2 separate regions of the Homo sapiens genome follow, and region 1 is linked to region 2. Evidence: promoter capture Hi-C in 16 types of primary human blood cells and fetal thymus (Javierre and others, 2016). All regions are on one chromosome and are shown on one strand. Each heading gives the region's core, a stretch centred on a gene start or on the middle of the fragment in contact. The rest is flanking DNA. Distances are from core to core; before and after follow the strand shown.

The links. The method cuts DNA at HindIII sites, captures the fragments that hold promoters and counts their contacts. A CHiCAGO score of 5 or more calls a contact.
Region 1: a fragment that was not itself captured here is called in contact with the fragment with the promoter of SLC25A35 in region 2 in 12 of 17 cell types (endothelial precursors, naive CD8 T cells, total B cells and 9 more); the score reaches 8.1 in endothelial precursors.

The regions. Positions count from the first base shown.
Region 1 is chr17:8,249,605-8,253,919 of GRCh38, forward strand. It overlaps PFAS (phosphoribosylformylglycinamidine synthase), which reads left to right. Exons shown (of 28, transcript NM_012393.3): 2 at 4,255-4,315. Among named protein-coding and RNA genes, the nearest start is that of PFAS, 2.5 kb to the left of the region's middle. The HindIII fragment of the contact is 2,695 bases long and covers 73-2,767 here.
Region 2 is chr17:8,293,157-8,297,332 of GRCh38, forward strand. It overlaps SLC25A35 (solute carrier family 25 member 35), which reads right to left and starts at 2,244. Exons shown (of 5, transcript NM_001320870.2): 1 at 1,277-2,244. The coding sequence starts at 1,651. RefSeq lists enhancers at 1,964-2,043, 2,064-2,113, 2,734-2,863. The HindIII fragment of the contact is 5,205 bases long and covers 1,893-4,176 here.

The DNA of each region.
Region 1 (4,315 bases), core at 170-2,669, 44 kb before region 2:
CTTTATATCAGGCACCATGCTGGTCATGGAATACAGCCCTCATGCACGCAAACCCTGTCTCTGAGCTCTTGAAGCTTATATTTTACTGGGAATGATAGACGGAAATCAAGTGGCTTAATAAACAAAATGCCTTCAGGAAGACTGTCCTGAAAGTTGGGGAGGGGCTGAAGAGTGGTGAGAATCAAGAGTTCATTAAGTCATTCCACAAGTTTTAGAATTTTTTTGCGTTTCAAGCCCTGGTATTGTTCTAAGCCTTGGTAATTCAATGGAAACGAAGCAGCAACATCCCATGCCCACGTAGAGATTTTTTTTCTAGTGGGGAATATAGAGCGAAAAATAAAAACATCCAATAGTGATAAGCGCTTTACAGGAAATTAAAATAGGGCCGGCCATCTGATAGTAACTACTTGAGTGGCTAGTGAAGCCTTTTCCACGAAGGCGAATCACCAGAAATCTAAATAACAAGAGCTAGCCATGCATATGTCAGGGTGAAAAAAATGCCTTCCAGGACTGAGCTTGGCAAGTTAGAGAAATAAAAAAGAAGCTAATGTGTGGTTGGTGCATTGTGGGTGAAAAAGAGAATGGTGTGAGATAGGGTTGGAAAGGTAGGCCAGAGAGTGGCCAGACTTGGTAAACCAGGATGCTGAGTTGGAATTTATACCATGTGTAATGGGAAGCCATAATCCACTTTATGCTGATGTGTGACAAATGAATTGTGGTTATGCAGTGGTCAGGAGGTTAATGCATTGGTCCAGGTGAGTGATGGTGGTGGCTTACTTGAACTAGAGTGAGGTAGTAGAGATGAAGAGATGAGAGATTTGAGACATGATTGGAAATAGATTTCCTGGTGGATTGGATTTAGAGAGTCTGAGGGAAAGAGAATTAAGGATGACTTCTGTGTTTTTGTCTTGAGCAACAAATTGGATGATGGTAGTGTTTACTGAGTGGCAAGACTAGGGGAACAGCAGAGTTTGGTGAGTAAAGCCAGGGTCCCGCTGAGAGGCAGTGGGACCAGAAATTGGATAGGTAGTTTGGGATAGATGGGGAGGGCCTTTGAATGTTAGGCTAAAAGTATTAACTGTAATAGTTCTGTTGCCTGATGCACACTGGAGGTCAATACACCAAGACACCAGGTTGCAGCAGAGAAAGAGGTTTAATCATAGGGCTGCTGAACAAGGAGACAGGAGGAAACCTCAAATCCATCTCCCAGAGTACTTTGGGGCTAGGGTTTTTAAAAAAGAGTTTGGAATAGGATTAGGATGAAGTGTGAAAATCATTGATTGAAGAGTGCAGGGTGAGGTCATGAAACAGGGAGATGAAGAAACTGATTCTCATGCTCACTTGGTTCCACTGTGGGAGTCTTTTTTTTTTTTTATTTTTTTTAATTTGAAAGATGAGGTCTGCCTGGCGCAGTCGCTCACGCCTATAATCCCAGCACTTTGGGAGGCTGAGGTGGGTGGATCACGAGTTCAAGAGATTGAGACCATCCTGGCGAACATGGTGAAACCCCATCTCTACTAAAAATACAAAAATTAGCTGGTCATGGTGGTGTGCACCTGTAGTCTCAGCTACTCGGGAGACCGAGGCAGGAGAATCGCGTGAACCCGCAAGGCAGAGGTTGCAGTGAGCCGAGATCGTGCCACTGTACTCCAGCCTGGCAACAGAGTGAGACCCCATCTCAAAAAAAGAAAAAGAAAGACGGGGTCTTGCTCTGTCACCCAGGCTGGAGTGCAGTGGCACAATCGTAGCTCACTGCAGCCTCAAACTCATGGGCTCAAGCGATCCTCTTACCTCAGCCTCTTGAGTAGCTGGGACCACAGGTACATGCCACCATGCCCCACTAATTTTTAATTTTTTTTTTTATAAAGACAGGGTCTTACCATGTTGCCCAGGGCTGGTCTCAAACTCCTGGGCTCAAGCAGTCCACTGCTTTGGCCTCCCAAAGTGCTGGGATTACAGGCATTGGGATTATAGGCGTGAGCCACTGCTCCTGGCTTCTGTGGGAGTCTTTGAGCTGGTGGAGTCAGCTGTTCTGCTGGAATTCAGGATCTGCTTAAGCAATTCTTTTTTTTTTTTTTTTTTTTTGAGTCAGAGTCTTACTCTGTCACCCAGGCTGGAGTGCAATGGCTCAATCTTGGCTCACTGCAACCTCTGCTTCCCAGGTTCCAGTGATTCTCCTGCCTCAGCCTCCCGAGTAGCTGGGACTACAGGTGCTTGCCACCACGCCCGGCTAATTTTTTGTATTTTTAATAGAGACAGGGTTTCACCACGTTGGCCAGGTTGGTCTTGAACTCCTGACCTCAAGTGATCTGCCCCTCTTGGCCTCCTAAAGTGCTAGGATTACAGATGTGAGCCACCATGCCCAGCCCTGCTTAAGCAATTCTTTTTTTTTGTTTTAATAATTTATGGGTCGGAATGGTGGCGCACGCCTGTAATCCCAACGCTTTGGGAGTCCGAGGCGGGCAGATCACTTGAGGTCAGGAGTTGGAGACCAGCCTGGCGAACATAGGGAAACCCCGTCTCTACTAATAATACAAAAATTAGCTGGGCGTGGTGGCGCATGCCTGTAATCTCAGCTACTTGGGAGGCTGAGGCAGGAGAATTGCTTGAACCCAGGTGGCAGAAGTTGCAGAGAGCCCAGATTGTGCCACTGCACTCCAGCCTGGGTGACAGAGTGAATCCATCTCAAAAAAAAAGAAAAAGAAAATAAATAAATAAATAAATAATTTATGACATGATATCATCAAGCAATAAATTCTTAAACAAAAGCTTTGTGATCAGAGATCCTTTTTTGTTTGTTTGTTTTTGTTTGTTTTGAGACAGAGTTTCACTCTTGTTGCCCAGGCTGGAGTGCAATGGCTCGATCTCAGCTCACTGCAACTTCCGCCTCCCGGGTTCGAGTGATTCTCCTGCCTCAGCCTCTCAATTAGCTGTGATTACAGGCACGCATCACCACGCCCGGCTAATTTTGTATTTTTTTTAGTAGAGATGAGGTTTCACCATGTTGGTCAGGCTGGTCTGGAACTCCTGATCTCAAGTTCTCACTGTGTTGCCCAGGCTGGAGTGCAGCGGCTTGATCACTGCTCACTGCAGCCTCCGCCTCCCCAGGCTCAAGTGATCTTCCCACCTCAGCCTCCCTAGTTGCTGGGACTACAGGCACATGCCAGCACACCCAGCAAATTTTTGTATCTTTTTTGAGAGAGATGGGGTTTTTGCCATGTTGCCCAGGTTGGTCTCGAACGCCTGTGCTCAATCCTCCCACCTCAGCCTCCAAAGGGCTAAGATTACAGGTGTTAGCCACTATGCCCCGCCCAATCTGGCCTCTTCTTATAAGGGCAGATTATAAGAGGTTTGGTGAGATTAGTAGCTCATTCTTGAGAGTTCCACTTTCATGACCTAATTACGTCCCAGAGGCCCCACCTCCAAATACCATAACATTGAGGATTAGGGTTTCAATATATGAATTGGGAGGGGGAGATACACAAACATTCAATCCATGGCTGATACCATTTCTCTCAGGAAATTTTTCCTGACACCTGAAGTGCAGGATTGGTGTCCACAGTCCCCTGACCTTCACCACACGGGACTGGAAATGTCTGGGTACTTGGCCTTTCTCCCCCAATAAAATATAAACCCTGTGAGAGCAGACAGAGTTTCTGTCTTGATTCACAGCGGTGTTTCTAAGACCTTGACTGGGGCCCAGCAAAGTGCATGTACTCCAGGAACACGTGTCAGGTGTGTGCCTGTACACCTCCCTACCACATTAATAAAGACCACATTTTGCAAGATTCCTTAAAATCTCCAAGGTTACATTTTTCAGGTTACCTTGTTTCTCTAAATGTCCATATTACTTTCCCCTACCCTATCCATAACGCCGCAATTTTCCTTGAAATCTGAAATCAGTTCAACAGATAGGCCATAGTTAATGTTATTTTTATTTTATTTATTTATTGAGACGGAGTTTTGCTCTTGTTGCCCAGGCTGGAGTGCAATGGCGCGATCTCGGCTCACTGCAACCTCTGCCTCCCGGGTTCAAGCAGTTCTCCTGCCTCAGCCTCCCTAGTAACTGTGATTACAGGCGCCCGCCACCACACCCAGCTAATTTTATATTTTTAGTAGAGACAGGGTTTCACTATGTTGGCCGGGCTGATCTCCAACTCCTGACCTCAGGCAATCCACCTGCCTCAGTCTCCCAAAGTGCTGGGGTTACAGATGTGAGCCACCACGCCCGGCTTAGTTAATGTTATTTTTTAGGAACCTAATTCATCTCTCCAGCAAAGGACACATCTCTCCAGCAAAGGACACCTCTCTCCAG
Region 2 (4,176 bases), core at 994-3,493:
CCTAGCAATAAACAGCTGTGTGACCTTGAGTGGGTCACTTCCCCTTTCTGGGCCTCAGGCTCTTGACCCTTCACCTATACCAGATAACTCAAAGGGGCAGATGTTGAGATTGTTAATTCTGTGATGCCCAGGGCCTTCCTGATCCCTAGACTCTCTGACGTATGTTAAATTCCTTATCCTCCCCTTCACAAATCCAACCTCAATATCAACACATAATAATAAAAACAAATGCTACCAAATGCTTACTGTCTGCCAGGATTCGCACTAATGCTTTCATGTCTACCGCATTTGTCTCCCTCGATCCTCCCAATAATCACACAGAAAGGGCACTATAATTATCACCATTTTACAGATGTGGCAACTGAAGCTCAACAACTAGTAATTTTCTTTCTTTTCTTTTTTTTTTTTTTTTTGAGACGGAGTCTCTCTCTCTGGCCCAGGCTGGAGTGCAGTGGCCGGATCTCAGCTCACTGCAAGCTCCGCCTCCTGGGTTTAGGCCATTCTCCTGCCTCAGCCTCCGGAGTAGCTGGGACTACAGGCGCCCACCACCACGCCCGGCTAATTTTTTGTATTTTTAGTAGAGACGGGGTTTCACCGTGTTAGCCAGGATGGTCTCCATCTCCTGACCTCGTGATCCGCCCGCCTCGGCCTCCCAAAGTGCTGGGATTACTGGCGTGAGCCACCGCGCCCGGCCAACAACTAGTAATTTTCAAAGCCAGGATTTTAGTTCCAGAAAGTCTGATTCCAAAGCCCATAATCTTTTTTTTTTTTTTTTGTGAGACGTAGCCTTGCTCTGTGGCCCAGGCTGGAGTGCAGTGACCGGATCTCGGCTCACTGCAAGCTCCGCCTCCCGGGTTCATGCCATTCTCCTGCCTCAGCCTCCCGAGTAGCTGGGACTACAGGCGCCCACCACCGCACCCGGCTAATTTTTTGTATTTTTAGTAGAGACGGGGTTTCACTGTGTTAGCCAGGATGGTCTCCATCTCCTGACCTCGTGATCCGCCCGCCTTGGCCTCCCAAAGTGCTGGGATTACAGGTGTGAACCACTGCACCCGGCCCCAAAGCCCATAATCTTAATCAATACATTCAATCGTGTCCATCAGATGGGTGTGTATAGGGCAGATCAGAAGACTCCGAAGCCTACCAGCACTTTCCTGATGCCTTTCCCTGCTTGCAGTGGGGCAGCACTCTGCCACCTATGCCCTTGGGAAAGAACAGCTCCTATCCTACAACGAGGATCTGCCCTGAAGGTCCCAGGCAAGAGCCCTCTTCTTACCATGTAGATGGGGCTCCCCAAGTAGGCTCCCATGACCCCAGCCATGGCCCCAGCTGCTGCGCTGCGGGCAGGACTGTGGGTGCCTTCGGCTGTGTGCAGGTAGCCCCCAGCCTCAGCCAGCCCATAGGTGCCCAGTCGGATGCCATTCATCAGGAACTGGTACAAGAGGGCGGGGGCCAGGCCTTTCTGCAGGGCAGCAAGGCCATCCACCTTGCCGATGGTGATGAAGGCATGGAAGACATTTCGGTAGTGCCGCTGGTATGTGCCAGGGGCCTGCAGTTCTCCTTGCAACTGCATCCTGGTCTTCACCACCTCCAGGGGATTGGTGAATACACAGGCCCCGCAGGCTGCCAGGCCACTCATCAAGAAGTCCATGGTGGGATAGCTGTAGCAGGAACTGACCCAAGAGTAAGAAAGTAAAAATGGGTGTCAGAAAGCGGGGTTGGAAGACAGGGGGAAGGCCTGTTTCAGCAGTACAGGTTGCAGAAGATAAGAATTTAGATTTGCAGTCAAGGGTGTCAGGGTCAAATGTCAAGTGGTCAAACGTCAGCTGGAATTTGGGAGTCAAGAGCTGGCAAGCAGGGAAGAGATAGAAATCTAGGAGATTCTGGTGAGAAGCTTAAGGCAGGACCCTCTGAGGTCAAGGAGGGGCAAAAGACAGAAGGTTGCAGGTGGGATGGCTCAGGATGGCGGGCGACGGGAGCACGGGAGTAGAGGAGGGAATCGCGGGGTTGGGAGATGGAAGCCAGGGAGGCAGGAAGAAGAAAGCCAGCAAGTGAGAGAAGAAAAGGATCCGGGAGAAGAGCCGGTGATTTCCTCGAGCCAGCAACGAGATCTCGATCCGAGAAAGAAGTCAGGACTCTGGCCAGGAATGAGCGTCCCTGAGCGTCCCCAGGCAGCCACCGGAGCTCGCAGTAGCTTCAACCCCGGGTAGCCTGCGGAGGCCGGGCCGCCACACTCCTGCCACTGGAGCGCGGGGCCAATGGGGAGCCTTCAAGAGCCACAACCGAGGCCCTCAGCCAATCAGCGCCGAGCCGGCTCCGCGGCCAAAGGGAGGAGCTCTCGGCGCTCCTGTCCCCGGAATCACCCGGAGGCGGTTGGAATTAACTGTCCAGGCTCCGCCACCAGCGCTCGGCCGCCGACTCCGGCTCCGGAAGGGAGGCCCGGGACGCGGCGGTTTTGTTATTGGCAGGGAAGAGACCTGGGTTCCCGATCGAACACAGAGGCCGAGCGCAGCAGTCCCCCACTGGGGTGCTGGGACCGCCCCTCGGGTGGGCGGACGGCTTTAGCTTCCTACCCCGGGTTGTGACCGGGTGGGGTCACATAAGTTCAGGTCCACGCCCTGCTCGGTGCCGGCGCCAGGAGAGCCAGGAAGACGCGGCCCGGCTTGCGGGGGGTAGAGGGACACACTTGCGCTGCGGGACCAGTCTCCTGAGGCTGCACGGGTTGGTGCTTGGTTAATTAAATCCTTAGTCCTTAGGCTCTTTATTTTTATTTTTTATTTTTTTTGAGACGGAGTCTCGCTCTGTCGCCCAGGCTGGAGTGCAGTGGCGCGATCTTAGCTCACTGAGAGCTCCGCCTCCCGGGTTCACGCCATTCTCCTGCCTCAGCCTCCCAAGTAGCTGGGACTACAGGTGCCCGCCACCACGCCCGGCTTATTTTTTGTATTTTTAATAGAGACCACCGTGTTAGCCAGGATGGTCTCGATCTCCTGACCTCGTGATCCACCCGCCTCAGCCTCCCAAAGTGCTGGGATTACAGGCGTGAGCCACCATCCCTGGCCTGGAGTTCTTTCATATGAGATATTTGTCTCTACTCCTCCATTATTTATTCAACCATTTATTTAATCAGTATGGACTCATGGACATTTATACTTTGGGTTATAATCCAATATACTTCATATTTATTTTCTAGCTAATTTCGTTCTAGCTTTGGCCTTTGAGAGCTGTTTCCGTTGGCTCCTGTGTCTCTTTAGCATACCCCCATCCATTTTTTTTTGCACACAAAAGTTTTTAGTTTATAAATCTTGTGAAAAATCCACAGTGGCCACAGATGTTACTGTAGCATCTTTACTCCTTTGGCTTTTTGCCACACCAACACTGTCCTTTGCAGTCCCCCTTTCTTCATTCTGGTCTTGTGTTCCTTTCATTGCTTTCTTGAGTTCTTTTCTTCTCATCCAGGCCATGTCTTGGAAGTCAGCATTTGGGTTTATTTTTCTTTGCATAATCCAGTGAATCATAAATCATGCCAAAGCCAGTTGTCTTGCCACCACCAAAATGAGTTCTGAATCCAAATACAAAGATGAGGCCAGGCGTGGTGGCTCACGCCTGTAATCCCAGCACTTTGGGAGGCAGAGGCAGGCAGATCACATGAGGTCAGGAGTTTGAGACCAGCCTGGCCAACATTGTGAAACCCTGTCTCTGCTAAAACTACAAAAATTAGCCGGGTGTGGTGGCAGGCACCTGTAATCCCAGCTACTCGGGAGGCTGAGGCAGGAGAATCACTTGAACCCAGGAGGCAGAGGTTGCAGTGAGCCGAGATTGCGCCACTACACTCCAGCCTGGGTGACAGACGGAGACTCCATCTCATAAAGACAAACAAAAACAAACAAAGATGATGACATCTAGTGTAGTCTCATACATTTTGGCTAGTTTTTCCTGAATTTCTGTCTTAGGTACTGTTGTCTTCCCAGGGTGAAGGACCTCAATAACCATTTGTTCCTCCTGAAGTATGTAGTCAGTTGATCATGAACTTCCTAGTTCAGATAGTTACTAAGTCATTCATGATGGCGGTCAATCCTCAACCAGGGAGAAAAATAAGAGTCCCATCAGTGTTGTTGTCATCATTGGTATTTTAATTAAAACCTTGTTTTTATTTAGTGTCACCTTACTTTCTGGTAC